Regions from separate parts of the Homo sapiens genome. Here regions 1 and 2 are each linked to region 3. The links are contacts of gene promoters, found by promoter capture Hi-C in blood cells and fetal thymus (Javierre and others, 2016). All regions are on one chromosome and are shown on one strand. The core of a region is centred on a gene start or on the middle of the fragment in contact, and the rest is flanking DNA. Distances in the headings are between cores, read along the strand shown.

The links. The method cuts DNA at HindIII sites, captures the fragments that hold promoters and counts their contacts. A CHiCAGO score of 5 or more calls a contact.
Region 1: a contact is called between a fragment that was not itself captured here and the fragment with the promoter of RBM26 in region 3, in 1 of 17 cell types (total CD4 T cells). The highest score is 7.1, in total CD4 T cells.
Region 2: a contact is called between a fragment that was not itself captured here and the fragment with the promoter of RBM26 in region 3, in 3 of 17 cell types (non-activated CD4 T cells, total CD4 T cells and naive CD8 T cells). The highest score is 7.8, in non-activated CD4 T cells.

Annotation. Positions count from the first base shown.
Region 1 is chr13:72,776,300-72,779,974 of GRCh38, forward strand. DIS3 (DIS3 exosome endoribonuclease and 3''-5'' exoribonuclease) reads right to left here. Exons shown (of 21, transcript NM_014953.5): 3 at 1,888-2,081; 4 at 1,121-1,194. Among named protein-coding and RNA genes, the nearest start is that of DIS3, 3.8 kb to the right of the region's middle. The HindIII fragment of the contact is 7,790 bases long and covers 1-3,675 here.
Region 2 is chr13:72,732,284-72,735,793 of GRCh38, forward strand. BORA (BORA aurora kinase A activator) reads left to right here. Exons shown (of 12, transcript NM_024808.5): 4 at 2,677-2,722. Among named protein-coding and RNA genes, the nearest start is that of BORA, 6.1 kb to the left of the region's middle. The HindIII fragment of the contact is 192 bases long and covers 1,335-1,526 here.
Region 3 is chr13:79,403,800-79,407,718 of GRCh38, forward strand. It overlaps RBM26 (RNA binding motif protein 26), which reads right to left and starts at 2,456. Exons shown (of 22, transcript NM_001366735.2): 1 at 1,905-2,456. The coding sequence starts at 1,975. RBM26-AS1 (RBM26 antisense RNA 1) reads left to right here and starts at 2,510. Exons shown (of 7, transcript NR_038991.1): 1 at 2,510-2,678. RefSeq lists a silencer at 2,012-2,211 and enhancers at 2,121-3,112, 2,442-2,741. The HindIII fragment of the contact is 7,810 bases long and covers 1-3,919 here.

The DNA.
Region 1 (3,675 bases), core at 23-2,522, 6.6 Mb before region 3:
TATGGTAGCCACTAGACACAAGTTTCTCTTGGGCACTTGAAAGACAGATAGTACCACCAAGAAACTGAATTTTTAATACATATTAAATTTAAATAGTCATATATAACTAAGTGGCTACATATTAGGGCAATACTAAATCTGTATTTCAAAAATCAAACCCAACTTTTATCTTCTCATTTCCTTTTGGTTTCATAAAGTATCATAAAGGTAAGAAGGGATGACAGAAGTGTAAAGACTGGATTTATGTATAATGTCCTATCACTTAAAACCTATTTCTATAACAAGGGCTACCATTTATATTTACCATACCTATGTGCCAGGCACTAGGATGAAAATTGTATTAATGCTACAGTTATCATCTTATTTGATCCTTATAACAACACTATGAAGTTATTATTGCTAAACATTATATATTTATATATAAGAAAATGAATGCTCAGAATTTAATTATTCCCTTAGCACTCCTTCTCACATCAGCTATTGTAATGACTCCTTTACTCACCTCTCTGCCTCTAATCTTTCCTGGATAAAATGCTTAATGTTACACACTGACATGAGAGTGGTCTTACAAACAAATACCATTTCCAATCATTCTCTCCTGCTCCACCAATCCACATTCATATACCATTACTTTTTCTTAGCCTGACATATAAGGAAGGGATCTCAGAATCCTTTCCTCTTCATAGCAGCCCTTCAGGGAGATCTTTATAAATCAATTGAAAAATTACTAACCTACAGAATAAGTTCTAGGTCTTTACTATCTGGACACTCCCCTCCCTCTTCTTTCCTCTGTCTGCAGTGCCTGCCACTTCATTTGTCAGCAGCTACTCTTTATTCACAAATCAGCCATGGACTCCGTTCATTTTTTCCTCAACCAAACAGTGCTACCAGGTACCAGGCCCTACTCAGGTTAATGGGAATATATCTATTTTAGAAAGTTAACTCCTTTAGGAATGGCATTTCAATAAGCCTATGACATCCACTCCTGTTTATAACACAACTATTCCAAATCCAGCTTACCCACCGACATTCCAATTTTTAAATTTGGTAACTATATGCCTAATATTCCAAAGTGGCTATTTTAATATTTTTACTTTTCAAAAACAAAACAAAAACATACCCCTTCTTCAGACAAACAAGCAAGACGATCTATGAGTTCGGGGTTAGCAGTTAGGCTCTTTACATATTCTTCACCTGAAAAAATAAGTTTATGTTGTTTTTGATAAGTGTTTTTTCCTTAGATATGAAAAAAATGGATAGTCTTGTTTGCGACAGTATACACGTCATTCTTTCATTCATTGAGACACACTGAGAGTCTCACTCTGTCTCTCAGGCTGGAGTGCAGCGGCGCAATTACACATCACTACAGCCTAGAATCCCTGGGCTCAAGCTACCTTCCTGCCTTAGCCTCCCGAGTAGCTGGGACTATAGTTACATACTACCATGCACGGCTTTTTTTTTTTTTCCTGTAGAGCTATAGTCTCCCTATGTTGCCCAGGCTGGTCCTGAACTCCTGGTCTCAAGCAAGCCTCTTGCCCTGACCTCCCAAAGTGCTGGGATTACAGCACCTGGCCTCAATTTATTTAAAAAACAAAACCCAAAAATCTGTTGATGTGATCATACCTAAGCAGAAGCAGGGGTTCCAGTATATTTATGAGATTTCATTGCTAAACCAGTTGCAAATAGTGAGGGGAAAATTAACAGCCACTGGGCACAACATATTTAGGTTAAAAACTATGTGAAATTTAAAAATACAAAAATATCACATGAAGTTATATAGGACTACGAAAATACTAAATAGTAAAGTGAACATCTGACTATAGGCCTAATGATTATTTTTACACGCATTTGCAAACATGCACTAAGTACTTCTACATTTAGACTTACAAGTGAAAGCTGGTATTCCTTCTTCTATGGCTTTCTCTTTGTTTCTCCTGTCATTTGTTATGAAGATAACTTGCAGCTGGTTGTCTGCTGACATTTTTTTCAAATGTTCATTGTACCATTTTGCTGCTACTCGAATCGCTCTATCATTCCTGTCATTAGCATTTTCTCCCTGTTCTTGTTCTACATAGGTTTCTCTAAATGGAAAGAAAAAACGAAATAAAAGGAAATCAGTAGAAACAAGGATATGTGAAAACTCTTAGCACATAAATGCTTAACCACTAAACTAGAAAAAGTCAATGGTATATCTTTTCTCTTGAATGTATTCAGATGTACACCTCAGAGAAGAAATCAAGATTCTTATAATTAAGTTTTTAAGAAACAATTTGCTTGGAAAAGAAGAAAATTATGTTATTAAGGGGACAAGAAAAAGGCTAATACAATTTTATTTCCTAAAAAGAAAAATTCAAGATCAGAATTTATACTTTAGGTTGAGACACTAAATAATAGTTTGTTGACAAATTATAATACAATTTCACAGGTATGATAATCAGATTTCATTCAAACTGTAGGTTAATAGCAATTCCTAAAAGCTACAAATAGTATAATTAGATCATTTATAATCAGAATTCTACAGTCATTAATAAATAATGCATATAAATTATCCATGGTAAACACTAATAGCTGAAGCTATGTAGAGACTGAAAAGTCAGGTATATTAATAGATATTACGTATTTCTTCTATCTAAACTCCCAAGTATGTCAACACATTCATCTATTTCTTTAAATCTGTTCATCAAAGCCAGGTTTAAGTACAACAGCAAAGTTCACTACAATAGCTTCCAGTACTTAATGGTAATAGATTCAATTTAATAATTTGATTTATATTAATAGTTTTAGAATTATTTTATTCCTCATCGTTGAATGCACTTGCTAATGCTTTTTTTTTTTTTTTGAAACAGAGTCTTGCTCTGTAGCTCAGGCTGGAGTGCAGTGGCATGATCTCAGCTTACTGCAACCTCTACCTCCGGGTTCAAGTGATCCTCCCAACTCAGCCTCGCAAGTAGCTGGGACTAGAGGCATGTACCACCATAACCAGCTAATTTTTGTATTTTTAAGAGACAGGGATTTTCCAGGTTGGCTAAGCTGGTCTGGAACTCCTGGCCTCAAGTGATCTGCCCACCTCAACCTCCCAAAGTGCCAGGATTACAGACATAAGCCACCACGCCCAGCTGCTAATGTTTTAAGCTCATCAGTGAAAGACACAGTCATAAATTTTTGAATTGGTTTTAAACTTGGGTCTTTCTGCACTGAAAAACAAGTGATGTTGCTATTTCTGGATTTCAAGGAGGTACTAACAATAAGAAGCCTACAAGGGCTTTACTGGTATTCTTTACAAGAACATTGAAGTTTGAGATATAAGAATCAAGAAAGTTGAGATATTAAGGTTTTTAAAAATGTGCATAATCTGATGGAATTTCATTACCAGAAGTCTACACTCTAATCCAATGGTTCTCAATTGAGTGAATTCACCCCTCAGGGCATTTTGTATCATTACAACTGAGTGGTGGTGGTGGTGGTGGTGGTGGGGGGGGTAAGGGGTGGTGATCCTGCCAAATAGGCTAGGAACACTGTTAAACATACTACAATGTATAAAACAGCCTTTCCACCACAAAAAAATTATTCAGTTCAAAATATCTATAATGCCAAGATTGAGAAGCCCTGATCTAATCCAATAAAAGTACCATACTCATCATAGATTATTTATGTAATATAACGTAATAGGCAATA
Region 2 (3,510 bases), core at 181-2,680, 6.7 Mb before region 3:
TGACCATTCAATCATAAAATTAATGTCCACCCAGAGTGTTAATAGGAAGGGAATAGAATGAGGATGAAGCATGAAAGGATTTTAACTTAAATTTAAATAATACCTTTGAGGCCAGGTGTGGTGGCTCACACCTGTAATCCCAGCATTTTGGGAGGCTGAGGCGGGCAGATCACTTGAGGTCATGAGTTCAAGACCAGGCTGGCCAACATAGTGAAACCCCATCTCTACTAAACATACAAAAACATTAGCCGGGCATGGTGGTGCACACCTGTAATCCCAGCTACTCGGGAGGCCGAGACAGGAGAATCGCTTGAACCCAGGAGGCAAAGGTTGCAGTGAGCTGAGATCATGCCATTGCACTCTAGCCTGGGGGACAGAGCAAGACTCCATCTCAAAAAAATAAAATAAATAAATAAGTAAATAAATAATACCTTTGAAAGAGAAGGTGAGATGAATATCTAAAAGCAAATGAGTCACAGTGACTAATTTTTTGTTTCACACGAACTTAATTATGCTTAATTATTTTGTCTCATTTCTTCAATATATTGAATGATGGACAATTATTATATTGATCAGTCAAGAGATACTTATTGAGTACTGTGAGGGACTGTAAGAAACACTGAAGAAGTACAAGATACTAAGAGTCAAGAGTCAAAAATATAATTAGACCAAAGTTGTAACACAGTGCTTCTGTTCTTACTACTAAATGATATATTGTCTGCAAAGGTTTATAAAGATAATCTTGGTGTCTCTTAGTACATAGATTTATCATATAGAAGAATGGAAAAGAGTGGGAAAATATTATAATTTAATTTAATAATATAATTCAATGAATGGTTATGGCTTCTACCAAGGATAGTCAATATATTCTTCACAGAGCATCTCGTTTCATCCTTAGAAACAAGCAGTGTCTTTCAGTATCTCTTCTTACATATTAGCCCTCTACTTCAATTCTTCCCATCCTTTTCATGCCACCATCCACACAGAAAATTGTAACTGAAAAGCATACCAGTGTAAGCAGGTGAGTCTTGGCCATGTAGGTGACCAGTCCTGAGGTCCCCTCTCCTTTGCCACCCTGCAAAGGCTCAACATTCAGGCCACACCTATACCTATATGCATCATACTGGTGTTCAGTGGTATGCTGGTCAGGATGCTCTCCCCTGTATGACTTCTTAGAATCTTGTTTGATCTGACTCTAGAGTATTTGGCCACAGTGATTTTTACAGTTTCCAGCAATCACCTGAGTATTTCATGTTCTTGAAGTCCCTCTGATGAAGTAGCAAAAGGTTTCTGAATGCAGTAATCCTAGTTCAGAGCTTACTTGCTATTTGCTAAGCTTGTTATGTGCTGCCATTTTGACCATGATAAGATGAAGAGAACCATTGATAAGATGAAGGCCATTTTGTTATCCTCAAAATGGCTACTGTTCAAGCTGGGATATGTGGGTTGACACTGTAGTTTATTTTCTCATACTTCTCCCACTTGAAAAATCTACTTAATTTCTGAAATGTATACATTCTCATATAAGCTTTATTAAGCCATGAGCAAGTCTATATGTGAAAAAAATTCACACCATGGAATACTATGCAGCCACAAAAAGCATGAGATCGCGTCCTTTGCATGGACATGGATGCAGCTGGAGGCCATTATTCTTAGCAAACTAATACAGGAACAGAAAACCAAACCCCTCATGTTCTCACTTATAAGTGGGAGCTAAATGATGAGAGCATGTGGACATATAGAGGGGAACAGCACACACTGGGGCCTGGTGGAGGGTGAGAGGAGGGAGATCAGGAAAAATAACTGATGGATTCTAGACTTAATACCTGGATGATTAAATAATCTGTACAACAAACCCCAGTGACACAAGTTACCTGTGTAACCTGCATTTGTACCCCTGAACTTAAAATAAAAGTTAAAGAAAAAATTCTGAGACAAAATAATTTTAAATTGTAAAAAAAAATATGTCTTACCAATTTACTGATGGAAGGCAAGGATTCTTTCCTGTAATGGAATAAAGAAGTGGTCCTAGAAAGCTAACTGCTGAGTCCTTGGCAAGTATATGCTTTGTGCTTGGACCCAAAATTTTATATTAAATCTTGTAGCTGAGAAGTTTATATAACAGTAATTGCAGATTGTATCAAAGTGAAAAAAAAATTCATTTGGAAAAAATGTTATATTGTCAGTGTTTTATTTCAGAGTTAATATTTTTGACTGTTTAGAACTGTGAACTATCCTCATCTATTTTACAGTAAAAGTTGATTCTAAAATTATTGCCATGATAAACTTGTTATAATTGAAGAGAAAAACTTTGGACAATTTTTAGATGTATGTTGAATTAAATACTTCTTAATTTGTATTAAGGGACAAAGTTTATCAAATTTATATTGTTAAAAGCAATTTAATATCAATGTAAGTCTTTTGAAATAAAGTATCATTGCATTCAAACTTTGAATGGAAAAGAGGGAGGTAAGCCTAACAGCTAACTGCTGAATTTCAGAATACTGCCTAAATGTTACTAAATGTTACAAGATACCACTAGTATTAATTATAAAGTGAGCTTAACATTTGCCAGTTTTCAATGAAGGGAGATTATTTATTTGAAAGGTTATTTTTTAAAATGTTCAATAAGCTTAAGTAATAGCATGGTTATTTTTCTTCTTTATCTTTGTATAGAATAGATAAAGATGTGGAAGACAAAAGACAAAAAGCCATTGAAGAGGTAACTTAAACTGTTACTGATCATTAAATCAGTTAAGGATCAATTCTGCATGTACATCACTTCTTTTAGGAAGACTTTCTTCAATTCCTTCACTGTCCTATCTCCCCTCCAAGCCCTTCACAGTCCCATCTATATAAAGCACCCTTCTGTACTGTCCTAAGACCAATAATTTCCAGCTATCCCAGTACCTTGCATAGCACTTGCATACTGTTGTAATGATCAGTTTAGTGTTTCTGTCCCCTAGACGCAATCTTTTTTGGCCAATACTGTACTTCATCCTTTCATTCTCAGGACCTAGCACAATTTGTCTTCCTTGTGCCTTCAAAATGTTGATTAGCACAAACTTTGTTTCAAGTTGGAGTTTATGTAGAGGAAGTCGAATATTCTCAGGCCTTCAGAGTCTAGATTGGCATTGGGAATGGCTTTGTCTTTTTTTGTTAATACTTTGGATTTTTAAGATATTCATGAAATAAAATCTCTTACTGTTAAACAGGAAAGGTATATCATAATGTAGGCTTTCTAAAAAATAAAAATAATTAAGTTTTTTGCTTTTTTATGTCTGTTGAATTGCCTTTCTTAGCATCTAAATAAGGTTATTATTATTATTATTTTTTGTTTTTTGAGACGGCGTTTCGTTCTTGTTGCCCAGGCTGGAGTGCAATGGCATGATCTCAGCCCACTGCAGTCTCCGCCTCCCAGGTTCAAGTGATTCTCCTGCCTCAGTCTCCCGAGTAGCTGGGATTACAGGCATGCGCCACCACACGCAGCTAATTTTGTATTTTTAGTAG
Region 3 (3,919 bases), core at 1,206-3,705:
ACAACTCTACTCCAGTGAAACTATTTTGCTAAGGTTACCAATGACTTCCACTTTGCTAAATCTAAGGGCTACCTATTTGCCTCCATTTTTTCATGCATTCTGCAGCATTTCATAAACTCCTCTCTTTTGCCATACACTTGTTTTTTAATGACATAAAGCCCAGTTTTCCTCCTGCCTCAGTACTAGGCCCTCTTCTCTTCCCTACCTACACACTTTTTCTATGAAATTTCCCACAATGTCATCGTCTTAAATACTATCTGCATGACTCCAGATTTCTCCAGTCCTGTCCTGAGTTTTAGACTCATATATTCAATGATCTGCTATCACACTTAGCTGTATCCCACAGACTTCATACTTACTGTATTTATTATTATCAAAACTAGCCATCCACTTTCCTTCTCCCCTTAACCTGTTCTCTGCCTTCTCTAATATCACCCATTCTGTTGCTTGGGTTATCTAAGGCACCACCCTTGATTTCCCTTTCCCTCATCTCCCGCATTTAATCCATTAATTTTACTTATGAAATGTATTTGGATCTGCCTGTCTCCACCATCACTCTAATGCAAACTAGCCACATCTCTGCCTACAACACACTTCTGAATAATCTTCTTACTTCCATTCTTGCCCTTTCAGTCTCTACAAAATAGGCAGAGTTAAAACAAAATTAAATCAGTCCTTGTCTGCTTTAAATCATCTCACGTCTTCCCATACATGATGTGGCCCCTACCTACTTGTCCAACTTGTTGCCTTTATATCCTCTCCCTCATCACAAGGCTCTTTCCAGCCACAGTGGCCTTTCTCTTCCTGAAACACACCACAATCACTTCTGCTACAGGGCCTTTCATTTGCTCTTCCTTTTGCAAGGAATGTTCTTTTCCAAGACTTTGACACACATGGTCCCTTCTCTTTAGATGTTACTCCAATGTCACCTTCTCTGAGAGTCCTTCCTTGACCAATGTGAAATAGCCCCCCTCATAATCACTTTTACATGATTCTCTATTATTACAATAGTCACAACTCTATTAATATCTGGATTTATTTATGTCTTGTCGATTTTAGAATTTAAAAGCTCTATCCCCAAAGCCTCCCGTAGTATACAGTAGGTACCTAATAACTTTATTAAATACGTGAATTTTCCCCATTGCATTATTGTAAATCAACCAATTCTGATTAAGCACTTTGGTCCATGTCATATTTTGTATTAACAAGTCGTCAAAACACTCCTTAAATTTTCCAATCTAAGACTATTTCAGCACTCTAACCGCAGCCCCCAACACAAAATCTATCTATAGCATCCCACTTAAAACTGCTAAATATTCCATATGGATGAAGATTCAATTTTCTTCCTCCTCTCCAAGCTAACGAACGCGTAGGCGGGAAAGGGGAATTTTACTGGCCACCTCAGCACCTGTTACATCTTCAATCAGTGAAGAGAGGTGCAGATGAGCCAGACAGCACATGGGAGACGTGGCCTTGCTTTCAGGAATTATATTTAGGTGAAACGTGAGTGATTTAAGCTAGAACTGCCCGAATCCCCAATAAAGGCCGTCTACTTCATTTAGAAAAACAAGGTAAAATAATCTGTAGGAAGTAAAATACAGTCGGTTTCACTAAAATAAACCGATTTTGAGGCCCCCGGAAAATATTGCGGGTGGGGGTTGGAGACGGTCTATATATAACGGGAAAACGAGAGCAGCTCAGCAATAAAATAAAGCTCGACTCAGGCTCTCGGGGGTATCCTGAATCTGGAAGCGAGGTGGACGAGGAGGAGAAGCCACAGAACCCTGGGACCTCCGTTCACCGCTTCGGCCTCCACCGCAGGCACTTGGGGAAACTGCACAGATCTCTGGGTCCGCCTATCTCCCACTGCCATCCCTGCAAAGAGATATCCCCCGGATACTCACATGGGCTCGAGAGTCTTGCTGAGCCAGGACTTGAGTGCCTCGAAGTTTTCAATGATCATTTTAGAAACCATCCACAGCGGCCCTAAGGCCCGTCACACTCCTCCGCCCGCCCAGGTCGCGGCCGCTACAGCCGCCGCTGCCCCCGCCCCCTCCTCCGCGCGCCGCCCGCGTGGGCCGCGGTGGGAGGCGCCGGTGGCAGGTTCCCGCGGGCCCCGGTCGGCGAACAGCTCTGCAAGGACCGCCGCAGGCCACAAGTGCACGGGGTGCCAGGAGCTCCCCGTCCCCGGCCCCCAGCCCGGGCTGAAACAGCAACGGTTTGCCCGGGCCCTCCCCCTTCCCTCTTCCCCAGCAAATCTACCCAGACCGGAAGCGCGACACGCGCTTAGACCCGAGCCTTCTCTCAGCCTCGGGACCAGGTGCTTGTTGGCTACGTCGAAAAGGCAAAAGTAAAGAAAGCGAAGGCGAAGGGCAGCTCAATGGGAACGATTCAGGGGGTCTTCCCGGCTCCCAGCACCCCCAAGAAGATGGCTGCCGGTAAATCTCGCGAGAATTGATGAAGTCTCGCGGTGGCTCCCGGAGCCTGCTGGGAGAGACGTAAGGTCGGCGGAGAATGCGCGGGTCGAGTGCTGTAGTTCGATTTTTGCGTGTGTGCGTTGCTTGCGGCCTTTGTGCCTTTTTATTCTTTGCTTACCTTTATGATATAAAGACCTTATTTCTTACAAGGAGGAAAAGACCGCTGACTTCAGAAACAGCGGGAACCCCAGCTCGTCCCCGGTAAGACGGCCGTGGCCTGTCAGCTGGAACGGTCCTGCCGGATGGATCGCTCTTTGAGAGCGTACACTCCCGCGTGCGCGACACCAGGCGGCCCGTAGGTTCCAGGTGCCGAGCACACTACCTCCTCAGTTTACCTAAGTGCCCTACCAGTATCATATTCTGTGTATGCTGTGATGTGAACGAGGTTTGTAAACACAGGCTGGTCTAATGGAGCCCAATGAGACCGCCAGAGGATTAGTGTCTTGTCCAACAGTACTTGACTTGCTGGTAGAGCCCTAATGACTGAGGGCTGCCCACAAGGGAAAGGTGAGAGAACCTTCACGTCTCTCAGGTAGTTTCCAGCCTGCACTTTCCCCCAGCTAAAGATAAGTTTTGTTATTTTTAAAATTCTCTTTATTTAGAGCAAATTCAGCCCTATCTCAGATCGGGAAATTATATAGTATCAAAAGAGAGAGTCTTCATATTAGCAACCCAAATAAATAAACTATTTTCCTGGGTGATCAAATAAGTTTGATTCCTGCTTGAGTTCTATTTAGATACTAGGTGGAATTTTACAAAGGGTCTACGTTCCATGAACTGTAATGGAATGAAAATATTCACAATCTAAAGACATTTTCAGTAAGTAGATCAATAAAAGCTCTTTATGAGAGACACCGATAGGCTAAATTGTTCTTAGGAACTCTTGAGTTTATAATTTGCTAGAGTGAAGTGTCTTTAAGGATTAGGTGGAAAGATTATGAACTACAAAGCAAGACATTTGTTTTAAAATACAGCATATAGAGTAGAATACAAATTAGAATCCAGCTACTGAATAACCAGGGTGTTGATTAAAGTGATTTAGCTGAGTGAAATAAACCAGACATGAAAGGACAAATATTATGATTCCACTTACATTAAGTACCTAGAGTAGTCAAAACTCCTAGAGACAGAAGGTGGAATGGTAGCAAGAGCAGGGGTGGAGAGGGTGCCCAGGAGAAGGGGAAATGAGGAGTTATATTTCAGTGGATAATAGAGTTTCAGTTTAGGATGATTTAGATTCTGGAGATGAGTGGTGTTGTGTGGGTTGCACAATATGAATGTACTTAATGCAGTGGACCATATACTTAATGAAAACGGTAGGTTTTATATGTATTTTACAATAAAAATTGTTTATAAATTTAATACTGCCGAAAGTTAAAATTATATTTGTTTAGTCTGTTTGTTGTAGCCTTGCCACAGGCTGACGCCACCAATATTTTCAA